4 separate regions of the Homo sapiens genome follow, and all the other regions are linked to region 1. The links are contacts of gene promoters, found by promoter capture Hi-C in blood cells and fetal thymus (Javierre and others, 2016). All regions are on one chromosome and are shown on one strand. Each heading gives the region's core, a stretch centred on a gene start or on the middle of the fragment in contact. The rest is flanking DNA. Distances are from core to core; before and after follow the strand shown. Region 1 holds the start of ZNF234 (zinc finger protein 234). Region 2 has its middle 9.4 kb from the start of ZNF223. Region 3 overlaps ZNF227 (zinc finger protein 227). Region 4 overlaps ZNF227 (zinc finger protein 227).

Region 1 (2,922 bases), core at 178-2,677:
ATTAGAAACCTCCCCGGTGATCCAATCGCCTCCCACCAGGCCCCAACTCCAACACTGGGGATTACATTTCAACATGAGATTTGGGTGGGGACACAGATCTAAACCATATCAATAGGCCAATGTATGTTTATGGGGAGAAAAAAATCTGGTTATCTTTTTTTTTTTTTTTTTTTCCGTGACAGAGTCTTGCTCTGTCGCCCAGGCTGGAGTGCAGTGGCATGATCTCGGCTCACTGCAACCTCTGCCTCTCAGGTTCAAGCGATTCTCCTACCTCAGTCTCCCGAGTAGCTGGAATTACAGGCACGCACCACCATGCCCGGCTAATTTTTGTATTCTTAGTAGATATGGGTTTTCACCATGTTCTCCTGGCTGGTCTCGAACTCTTGACCTCATGGTCCGCCCGCCTTGGCCTTCCCAAAGTGCTGGGATTACAGGCGTGAGCCACCGCACCCAGCCCCTGGTTATCTTGAAGAAAGATTTTAGATGGGTTTTTTTCTGATTTTGCTTTATTCTATTATTTATTTGTATCAACCAATGTAAGCCAGATTCCAAATTGCTAACTATAATGACGATATTTTAACCAAAAAATATAAAGGAAGAAAATAAAATATGTTCCTTCACGTATAGGATCCTCCTTAATGCTACTGCATTAAATAAATCATAGGCATTGGGTGTCTGACATCAATGCCAAGCGCTTCACCAGTTATACTTGCTTTGAAGTATTGGGCAATTTAAGAGCTTCTCTGAAATTTGGTGTTTTTACCTCTTCAGTAGACATAATACCATGAAAAGTGTAAACGAAAGAAGATAGCTTTTCCATGAGGACAGGGCTTCCCCACTGGCCCTCTCAAATGATGATTGTTTTTCCTGCCAAACCAGTGGTACCACAGCGTCTGGAGTAGGGGCTGGCACCTTCTTTGTTCTTCATTGCCTCTCCCAAACCATTGTACTTGCTCACTCTTCCAACTTTTAGTTTTGGCCTCATATTATCAGTTTATAGTAATCAATCATCAATCATCTACTGACCCCTAAAAAGTCATTCCCCATTTAGTCCTTGAAGATTGTATCTCCTCGCTTGTTCTCTTTCCAATAATCCTCCGTAGTCCTGGGAGGCGTTTAGACTTCAGGAATTGCTGTCTATTCAATATTTTCGCTCAAGGACTCAGGCAGAGGGAAGGACGACTCTCAGGGTCACAGTCCACATTCCCTACCAAGCGCTCAGCGATATAGGATTCGTTCCCCATGGGCAGTGCGGGAATCGTAGGCAAGGAGCACCGCGGAGTCCCATCGCTTTTCCCTGAAGGGTGAGATTCTGAACGTTTTTCCCTCAGCATTCTGAGTGTAATCCAAACGCTCAGTGGAGTCGTGGTCCATTTGACCCACGCAGGGGGATCCGGGGAATTCTGGGAAATGTAGTCCCGCCAATCAGTGGAGTCGCGGGCACTTCCGCTCCAGGGAAGAGGGGGCGATTGTCACGGCACATTCCACGGTAGTTTCTTCCAGTTCCGCGACTCGCGGGCCCCTCCTAATGTCAGGGACTTAAGATTGGGGCTCGCTGGGACCTGGTGGTCCGGTTATGGGAAAAGAAGCCTCGTGGGAGAGCAGAGGTTTGGTGGGGCGAGGGCGGCGGCTTTTGTTGTGTCAGCGGAGCCTTCTTGGGCTGGGGCTCCCCTCGTGTCCCGCGGCGGGAGGCGGGGGGCATTGGGACTTGGTTGGGTCGCGTCTCGCCTGGTTTGAGGGTTTCCGGGGCTCTGAGCTCGCCCACTCCGCCTCCCTGCACTCCAGGCGCGCAGTCACTTTTTTACAGTGCAAGGTTGGCGTGTTAATCTCCCTGGGCCTCTCCTTGCTGTTCTTTAAAATGGGGACGTTAGGACCATCTTTGTAGAATCGTTTTGGTAACTGGAATAGGTTACACAACACAAACAGTCCCTGTCACTTGGTGAGTGGTGGTTTCTTGTTACTTTCCCACGAAACCTGTTAGGTCCCCCGGTGGGGTCAGAGCTCCAGCAGCAGGGGCCTCAGCCCTTATCTCTGATCCCTGCAGGACGCTGGACGATCCCGGACGCCTTCTGACCTCTTTTTAGGCAGGCGAGGGTTGCGTCCACTTCCACGAAGGGAGGGGAGCATTTAACTTTTCTCAGGGACAGCGACCCAGTCAGGATGTTTCACAGCTTTCTCCTTCCCCAGCCTGAAAAAGGACTGCGCGGACTGACTTCTTGGCTACTGAAAGCAAAGCTCCACGTGAGTGTGACTTGTCATTTTTCTTTTACAGAGACTGTATCTTTGTAGCATGTGTAATAGGGCATGGGCATTTATAATAATTAAGCCTTAATTGCTAACTTCAATTCTAGGGGATTTATACAATTAGATACGTTTAAGCCGCAACGTGACTCTGTGGAGAGGTACTGGTCATCCAAGTAGTAAGAGGTGAAACTTGGGTTGGAACCTAGGCATTCAGGGTCAGAGCCCGAGTTGATCATCTCTTGGATATATTCTCATTGAGGCAGAGGAACTAGCTGTACTCAGGTGGGGAAAGTAAGTTAGAACTTGATTAAAGGACCTTAAGAGCAAGGCTAATTGCCTTGGAGTTTTCTCAGTTTTTAAAAACTGTCAACTATTTTGTTTCATTTATTACAAATATTTCACATTCTAATAGAACCGTATCACTGTGAAGCATTCAGAAATTACAGAAATACGAAGATACAAAAATTGTAATTACCTATGAAATCAGGATGTAAAGATAGTAATGGTTAAATTTCTAATGCATTTTGTTTTAGTGGTTCCATGTTTATATTACTTATAAATGTTTTACAAAATTTTTATTATACATTTCTCAATGTTTTTCTATTTATCTGCTTATCCATGGAAATTTCCAGATAAAGAGATAATAAACTAGTGACCTGCCATATTCTATCATGCTCA
Region 2 (2,922 bases), core at 124-2,623, 99 kb before region 1:
AATTATGCTTTAGATACTTTGTGTATAATTATGCTCTTGGTTTCTAAGCATTGCTGTCAGGTTATACAGGGCAGTGAGTAGACATATCTGTGAAGCATTAACTCTGGGCATTGTGGTGAGTGTAATGGTAGAAGTATTTTCAATGTGTTGTGAGGGAAGGGAATATACCAATTCATGATAGGTGAGTGGGCTATTGGTATAAGTGAAAGAAGGTCCAGCTGCTTATCTCTTATAGAAAAAAGCCAAAATAACAACAGGAAAGTGTGATAAAAAGAGTGAATTTTATTACTTGTTGCTAGCAAGGGAAAGAGTGATTGGAATCTTTTCCAAAAGTTGCCACTTTTCAATTTCTGGAGAGAGGGCCACAGTTTAAGAAGTGGGCTTGGAATGCAGAGAGGTAAGGGGGTTTAGGAGGTACCTGATGGCATGTCTCGCTCTGATGATCTTGAATTATTGTTGCATCTGGTGAAGGGGCCAGCACGATCATGGGCTCAATCAGGTTATAAATTAATGGACTGTCAATCTTGCAGTTCATCTGTAGCCAGGAGGAGAGAATTCCAGAGCTGCCTGATCCTCATCAGTATTCTTCCCCTGAAGCTTCTAAGGAAATATGTGAGCAGATAAGTGAGCGCGGTGTGAGCTTAACAAGCATCCTGGTAAATAAATGTGTATAGGGCATGGAAGCATAAGGTGGGAAAAAGAAGGGAGTGGAGTTTTAAAGCAGATTTGGAGGCTGTATTTCAACACGAAAGAAAACACATCTGTAGTTTGTCTCAAAGCTACGTCTTGAGACTGGGGAGAAGTGGGAAAGAAAAGACGGTCTTTAAAATGTAGTTTGAAGCTAAGGTGCTTGGTTACACAGGCCCCAAAATACTATTAGGCCAACCAGTCCAACCTTGCTTAAACTTGAGTAATGATTCAAATATCATAAAATGCATCACTTTAAAATATATCCTTTAGTGGTTTTTTAGTAAATTCCCAAAGTTGTGCAACTGTCACTACTCTCTAATTTCAGGTTTTTTAAATCGGCCCAGAAAGAAATCCCCTATCCATTGGCAGTCACTCCCAATCCTCATCCTTTCTCCACTAGCTCCTGGCAACCATTATTCTACTTTCTGTTTCTACAGATTTGCCCATTCTGAATATTTCATGTAAATGAAATCATACAACATGAGCTCTCTTCTGAATCACATCTCTTAGCTTTCATTTCTCTTGGTGTATACTTAGGAGTGAAATTGGGTAATAAGCTGTATTAGTCTGTTTTCCCACTGCTATAAAGTACTACCCGAGACTGGGTAATTTATAAAGAAAAGAGATTTAATTGACTCACAGTTCCAAGGATTGACAGGAAGTATGACTGGGAGGCCTCAGGAAACTTACAATCATGGTGGAAGGTGAAGGAGAAGAAACATTAGAACAGAAAAGAGAGAGCAAAGGGGAAATGCCACACACTTCCAAACAACCAGATTTCATGAGAACTCACTCACTATCATGAGAATAGCAAGGGGAGGTGGAGGTTGCTATGAGCTGAGATGGCGCCATTGCACTCCAGCCTGAGCGGCAGAGCGAGACTCTGTCTTAAAAAAAAAAAAAAAAAAAAAAAAAAGACATTCCTTAGAAAAGCAGGGATTGATAATAATCAGTTGTGTTATCTTTTTGTAGTGAAATAATTTGAAATTCACAGGAAATTGCAAGGGAAGTACAGAGAAACCCCGAGTCTTCCATCTACATTCTTAATTACATTTTACATTTTACATAATTTTAGTAAAATATCAAAACCAGGAATTCAACATTGGTACAATGTGTGTGTATACCACTTTTATTTGTCGTATTTCATGTAGATTTAATGGAATCACCAAGGCAGTGATGATACAGAAAGAACTATTCCATCACCACAAAGATCTCTCTTGAAGTATCCCTTTATAGTCAACCCAACTTGTGTCCCTACCATTCATTACCCCTAGCAACTACTCATCTGATGTCCATCTCTACATTTTGTCATTTTGGGAATGACATATAGATGGAATCATGTATTATGTACTTTTTCAGATTGTCTTTTTACTCAGCATAACACCCTTTAGCTCAACTTGTCCAGCCAGTGGCACACATGCAGCCCAGGACGGCTTTGAATGTGGCCCACCACAAATTTGTAAGCTTTTTAAAAACATCATGAGATTTTTTTTTTTTTGCTATTTTCTTTTTAGCTCATCACCTATCATTAATCTTAGTGTATTTTATTTAATGCTGTGAGTATCTGTTTCTGTGTTCAAATACCATCCATAACTCTTCTTAAGTGAATTGGGTCTTTGTGTTTTTTGCTCCTTTTCTTCTTAGACTATTTTATGGTTGAGTTGTGAGAGTTGTTTATATATTGTAGATATAAATTTTTCGTCAGATATGAGATCTGCAAACACTGACAAAGCTCTAGGTACTGACAGTTTTCCTACACTGTCTTCTTAAAATTTTATGATTTTACATTGATATTTCACATTTAAATCTATGATCCAATTTGACTTAATTTTGAAATAAAGTCTCAGATTCTTTTTCTTTTATGCACATGGATGTTCAGTTTTCCCAGCAGTCTTTGATGAAAACACTGTCCCATTTCTATTTATTTGCTTTAGCATTTTGGCACAAATCATTTTGTTATAGTTGGTTAGGGTCATTTCTGGGTTATCTATTGTGTTCCACTGATCCGTGTGTCTATACTCAGAGAATATTACTCTGCCTTGGTTAATGTAGATATATAATAACTCTTGACATTATTAGAGTGATTCCTCCCACTTTATTCTTCTTTTGCAAAGTTGTTTTAGGTGATCTAGTTCCTTTGCCTTTTGATATGAATTTTTTATCTATTAAAAAAACTTGCTGGCCAGGGTGTGGTGGCTCACACCTGTAGTCCCAGCACTTTGGGAGGCCAAG
Region 3 (2,922 bases), core at 227-2,726, 95 kb after region 1:
CCCAGCATTCTTGCGGGAATACATATCTGAGTGAGTCACAGATTCAGAGTAGAGGTAAGCAAATTGATGTGAAAAATAACCTGCAAATACATGAAGACTTCATGAAGAAATCACCATTTCATGAGCATATTAAAACTGACACAGAACCAAAACCCTGCAAAGGTAATGAATATGGCAAAATCATTAGTGATGGCTCCAATCAGAAATTACCCTTAGGAGAGAAACCCCATCCATGTGGTGAGTGTGGAAGGGGCTTCAGTTATAGCCCAAGGCTTCCCCTTCATCCGAATGTTCATACAGGAGAAAAATGCTTCAGTCAAAGCTCACATCTGCGAACTCATCAGAGAATTCACCCAGGAGAGAAACTCAATAGATGTCATGAATCTGGTGATTGCTTCAATAAGAGCTCTTTTCATTCTTATCAATCTAATCATACAGGAGAGAAGTCTTATAGATGCGACAGTTGCGGCAAGGGATTCAGTAGCAGCACGGGTCTTATCATTCATTACAGAACTCATACTGGAGAGAAACCCTATAAATGCGAGGAATGTGGTAAATGCTTTAGTCAAAGTTCAAATTTTCAGTGCCATCAGAGAGTCCACACTGAAGAAAAACCATACAAATGCGAAGAGTGTGGTAAGGGCTTCGGTTGGAGTGTTAATCTCCGTGTTCACCAGAGGGTCCACAGGGGTGAGAAGCCCTATAAATGTGAGGAATGTGGTAAGGGCTTCACTCAGGCTGCACATTTTCACATCCATCAGAGAGTCCACACTGGAGAGAAACCCTACAAGTGTGATGTGTGTGGTAAGGGCTTCAGCCACAATTCACCATTAATATGCCATCGGAGAGTCCACACAGGAGAGAAGCCATACAAGTGTGAGGCGTGTGGGAAAGGCTTTACCCGTAATACAGATCTGCATATTCATTTCAGAGTTCACACGGGAGAGAAACCCTATAAATGTAAGGAGTGTGGTAAGGGCTTCAGTCAGGCTTCAAATCTTCAAGTCCATCAGAATGTCCACACTGGGGAGAAACGATTCAAGTGTGAAACGTGTGGGAAGGGCTTCAGTCAGTCCTCAAAGCTTCAAACCCATCAGCGAGTCCACACTGGAGAGAAACCATATAGATGTGATGTGTGTGGTAAGGACTTCAGTTATAGTTCAAATCTTAAACTACACCAAGTAATTCACACTGGAGAAAAACCATATAAATGTGAGGAATGTGGGAAGGGCTTCAGTTGGAGATCAAATCTTCATGCACATCAAAGAGTTCACTCAGGAGAAAAACCCTATAAATGTGAGCAGTGTGATAAGAGCTTCAGTCAGGCCATAGATTTTCGGGTACATCAGAGAGTCCATACTGGAGAGAAGCCATACAAATGTGGTGTCTGTGGTAAGGGCTTCAGTCAGTCCTCTGGTCTTCAATCCCATCAGAGAGTCCACACGGGGGAAAAGCCATACAAATGTGATGTGTGTGGAAAGGGCTTTAGATACAGTTCGCAGTTTATATACCATCAGAGAGGCCACACTGGAGAAAAACCTTACAAATGTGAAGAGTGTGGGAAAGGCTTTGGTAGGAGCTTGAATCTTCGCCATCATCAGAGGGTCCACACGGGAGAGAAACCCCATATATGTGAGGAGTGTGGTAAGGCCTTCAGTCTCCCCTCAAATCTTCGAGTCCACCTGGGTGTTCACACCAGGGAAAAACTCTTTAAATGTGAAGAGTGTGGTAAAGGCTTCAGTCAGAGTGCACGTCTTGAAGCCCATCAGAGAGTCCACACTGGAGAAAAACCATACAAATGTGACATATGTGATAAGGACTTCCGTCACCGTTCACGTCTTACATATCATCAGAAAGTCCATACTGGTAAAAAGCTTTAGAAATGAGAAATGTGTTACCAACTTTTGTCTGAATGCACATCTTCAAGTTTTTGGCTAGTCCATGCTGGTGGTAAACCCTGTAAAACTACTGAGAGTGGAAGGGGGTTTGTTCACACTTGGAATCTTTCTAACAAATCCATCAAGATGATAACACAGAACCATGAACAGGAATAGAACTCGTATTTAGGGGAGAAATAGGGCTGGTGGCTCTCTTGGTAAGATCTAGTTAATATAAATGATCACCTTTCATTGTGAATATATGCCTGAAGATAATGTGTGGAAGGATATTTGCCATATGCTAACTGGTTTTTTGGCCAGGGAGAGTTTTGGGTTATTATCCCTTTTCTTTAATTTTCATTTTATACTTACAGTGATCATTATTTTCATAAAAGCTGTAAAGCTATGAAAAATGAATAAAATTACTAAAAATTTTCTGTAGCTAAGGACTCATGATTCTTTTATATGGTATATAGGTGTAAAATTAAGGAATATATCCCCAGAGATGAATCTTTGATCTTCAGAAGTAAATTTATATCTGCTGTAGAGGTGTATTAAAGGATAGTAGTATGGCCGGGCACGGTGGCTCACGCCTGTAATCCCAGCACTTTGGGAGGCCAAGGTGGGCGGATCACAAGGTCAGAAGATTGAGAACATCCTGGCTAATATGGTGAAACCCCATCTCTACTAAAAATACAAAAAATTGGCCAGGCATGGTGGCACGTGCCTGTAGTCCTAGCTACTCGGGAGGCGGAGGCAGGAGAATCGCTTGAACCCAGGAGGTGGAGTTCGCAGTGAGCCAAGATTGCGCCACTGCACTCCAGCCTGGTGACAGAGCGAGACTCCATCTCAAATAAATAAAGAAGAAAGAGAGAGAGAGAGCAAGAGAAAGAGAAAAGAGGATAGTCGGTGCATCATTGTTTTAGTAGCAAACATAGAAATACTTGGATTGCCAAAGTATTTTGTGCTTTACCAATCCAGTGGCACACTATGCAGACATCAAATGGGAAAAGGTAAATTTTTAGCTGTGGATATTGGAAGATGT
Region 4 (2,922 bases), core at 172-2,671, 76 kb after region 1:
ATGTAAATAATCATCTAGTTGAACATAGAATTCAGGTTGACAGTTTCTTTATTTTGGAGGTAATATTCATTTGTTTTAAATCTCCATTCTGTTACCCTATTTCTGTCAATCTAATTGTTATTTCTTTTAGGTCAACTATATTTTCTTTCTAGGAGCTTTAAGGTTGTTGTTTCCAGTTCTTTATGTTCGTTTAGTCTTTTGCATTTCTGAGTTTTATTGTGATTTGTTTAGGGTATGTTTATTTTTATTTATACTGTTTAGAATTTCTATATGCGAACTTGTATCTTTTACCAATTGTGTGAAATTCTCAGCAATTGCATCTTGAAATTAAAACCTCTCAGTCATTCCCTCCATCCTGCCTTCTCTTCTCCCATTCCTGTTAGACAAATACGGAAGCCTCTCAATTTATCTTTCATGTTTCTTGATTTTTCGTTTGTGCTTTATCTTTCTCTTTGCTGTGTGTTTTTCTCTGTGCACATAAAATAAAAGAGATGTACCAATGATCGTTTCCAGGCTTCATGAAGTAAATTGACCCAGAATGATACGTTTTAGAAAACTGATAACAGTGTCAGTAAAATATTACTAGCTGGGCAACAAATTACTAAAAAGAAACCTTAAGTCAGATTTCGGCTTTTCAGAAATTAAAGGTGACTTTCATAGGAGAGCAATATTTGCAAGGCAAGTGTGTGATGCAAAGTATCATCTGCTTGTTTTTTTTTTTTTTTTTTTTTTGAGACAGAGTCTCACTGTGTCATCCAGGTTGGAGTTCATTGGCGTGATCTTGGCTCACTATAACCTCCACCTTCCAGGTTCTAGCAATTCTCATGCCTCAGCCTCCCAAGTAGCTGGGATTACAGACCCGCACCACCACGCCTGGCTGATTTTTTTTATTTTTGGTAGAGATGAGGTTTTGCCGTGTTGGCCAGGCTGGTCTCAAACTTCTGACCTTATGTGATCCTCCCTCCTTGGCCTCCTAAAGTGCTGGGATTACAAGCATGAGCCACTGTGCCAGGCCTGGCTAAACAGCAAGAAGCCATGAAGAAGCTTTTTTGTAACTATAAGAGAAAGGGACTCCTGGTTCTTAGAACTCTCCATCTACTTATTTAATCCTTGGAAAAACCCTATGAGGGAGGTACGATTTATGATTCTTACCATATCCTCATTGTACACATAACAGAAGTGAGGCACAGAGAGGGTTTTTAATATCCCCAAGGTTACACAGCTGGTAAGTATCATTTCTAGGAATTAAACCCAGATACTTGACTTGAGAGCCCTCATATGTTGTTACATTGCCTCTCGTTTCCTGCTGTCTCTGCCATCAGAAATCCTTGTAGCAAGGATGCTGCACTTGTGCAGACTGTTCACTGCCCAATGGCACTGAACTATCATGCCATTTAGTAGCTGGAATACAGTCCATGTTCTGCTTACCAAGCTGTATGTGGCTATACCTGTCTGAATGTAGGGCTATTTCTCTAATTTCCTCATATGTACACATGGGCTAACAGCAGGCTTGTGTCTCATGGCGTCTTTGGTCTCCCCCAGTTATGCCATCTCAGAACTATGACCTTCCCCAGAAGAAGCAGGAGAAAATGACCAAGTTTCAGGTACGTAAAGGATTCCTTGCTGTCTTTTAAAATGTGATTTATTTCTCAAAGATAACAGATTTATTTTTTCTCTTTCTTGGAAAGGTTAGTGGGAAACAGATATTCAGGACATGTGGTATGCTGACATGTATGTGTTTTTTTGTTTTAGTTTATCACCTTTACTATTTTACAAAACAGTGTTTGAAAAAATAATAGAAGCTTTAATCAGAAATAATCTATGCTACTACCCTGCTTATGAACTAGCTTTTTTCATTTTCCCATGTTCCTTTTTCATACACATTTTGCAATACTTGAGTAGATGAAATTTTCAATTGTGCATTCTCCACTTAATTGCATCACCTGCATTGTAAGTGAGTACATCATATGCCATTGAATTGCAGTGCCCTTAAAAGACAACAAAAACTATTTCTTATTTAGCCTTTCAGAAATTCAGAAATTTTAAGAATTTTACTACTTTAAAGTAAATCCAGTGACTTTTTTCCCTACATATAAAAACAATTCCTTCAAAAGAAATTCTGGTGGAATTCAATATTATTTGTCCTTAAAGTTTTAGGAACTCTGCATTGAAGAGGTTTATGTCTCAGTTTCATGTCAGTTCCCTCAGGTGTTTTGTAAACAGAACATCTAAAGAATGACATGGTGTAATTTTATTAGATGCTTTCAGAGAAGAAGAGCTATATATTTTTCCCGTTTATGTTTTTATCACTCATTTATTTCTTGTATGAATTTATTTCATCAAAGTAACTACATGTACGTAAGGTCTAGTAGTACTTAGATGTCTTGCTAGCCCTTTCCATCTGTCATTGCATTTTTCAGATGTGAGGATGGAGATGATTTATTTGCATTTTAAATATGAAGAAACAGGTTATGGGAACATTTTATAACTGCCCCAAATTTCCCAGGTAGCTGACTCATTGGACACTGAAGCTTCCAACTATTAGGAATATCTGGCATTCTATTTTCATGTAAAGGCAGACAGAACAAAAGAGTTTTCCATTCACAGAGATGAGCACATATGATAGAAGTACCTGATGTTACCTTTTTATTCTTTTGAGACAGAGTTTAATTCTTGTCACCCAGGCCGGAGTGCAATGGCATGTTCTTAGCTCACTGCAACCTCTGCCTCCCAGGTTCAAGCGATTCTCCTGCCTCAGCCTCCCAAGTAGCTGGGATTACAGGCATGTACCAGCACGCCTGGCTAATTTTGTATTTTTATTAGAGACGGGGTTTCACCACGTTGGCCAGGCTGGTCTTCAACTCCTGACCTCAGATGATCCACCCACTTCGGCCTCCCAAAGTGCTGGGATTATAGGCGTGA

The links. Contacts are between HindIII fragments. The CHiCAGO score rates a contact against its expected background, and 5 or more counts as called.
Region 2: a contact is called between a fragment that was not itself captured here and the fragment with the promoter of ZNF234 in region 1, in 4 of 17 cell types (fetal thymus, naive CD4 T cells, activated CD4 T cells and 1 more). The highest score is 6.3, in fetal thymus.
Region 3: a contact is called between a fragment that was not itself captured here and the fragment with the promoter of ZNF234 in region 1, in 3 of 17 cell types (naive CD8 T cells, fetal thymus and naive B cells). The highest score is 5.6, in naive CD8 T cells.
Region 4: a contact is called between a fragment that was not itself captured here and the fragment with the promoter of ZNF234 in region 1, in 9 of 17 cell types (total CD8 T cells, naive CD4 T cells, naive CD8 T cells and 6 more). The highest score is 8.3, in total CD8 T cells.

What each region holds. Positions count from the first base shown.
Region 1 is chr19:44,140,127-44,143,048 of GRCh38, forward strand. It overlaps ZNF234 (zinc finger protein 234), which reads left to right and starts at 1,428. Exons shown (of 6, transcript NM_006630.3): 1 at 1,428-1,607; 2 at 2,188-2,241. RefSeq lists enhancers at 1,456-1,855, 1,610-2,200, 1,866-1,915. The HindIII fragment of the contact is 9,485 bases long and covers 1-2,922 here.
Region 2 is chr19:44,041,195-44,044,116 of GRCh38, forward strand. No RefSeq gene overlaps it. Among named protein-coding and RNA genes, the nearest start is that of ZNF223, 9.4 kb to the right of the region's middle. The HindIII fragment of the contact is 1,557 bases long and covers 596-2,152 here.
Region 3 is chr19:44,234,951-44,237,872 of GRCh38, forward strand. It overlaps ZNF227 (zinc finger protein 227), which reads left to right. Exons shown (of 6, transcript NM_182490.3): 6 at 1-2,318. The coding sequence ends at 1,880. Among named protein-coding and RNA genes, the nearest start is that of ZNF233, 23 kb to the right of the region's middle. The HindIII fragment of the contact is 792 bases long and covers 1,081-1,872 here.
Region 4 is chr19:44,216,249-44,219,170 of GRCh38, forward strand. ZNF227 (zinc finger protein 227) reads left to right here. Exons shown (of 6, transcript NM_182490.3): 3 at 1,543-1,604. The coding sequence starts at 1,545. Among named protein-coding and RNA genes, the nearest start is that of ZNF227, 5.2 kb to the left of the region's middle. The HindIII fragment of the contact is 758 bases long and covers 1,043-1,800 here.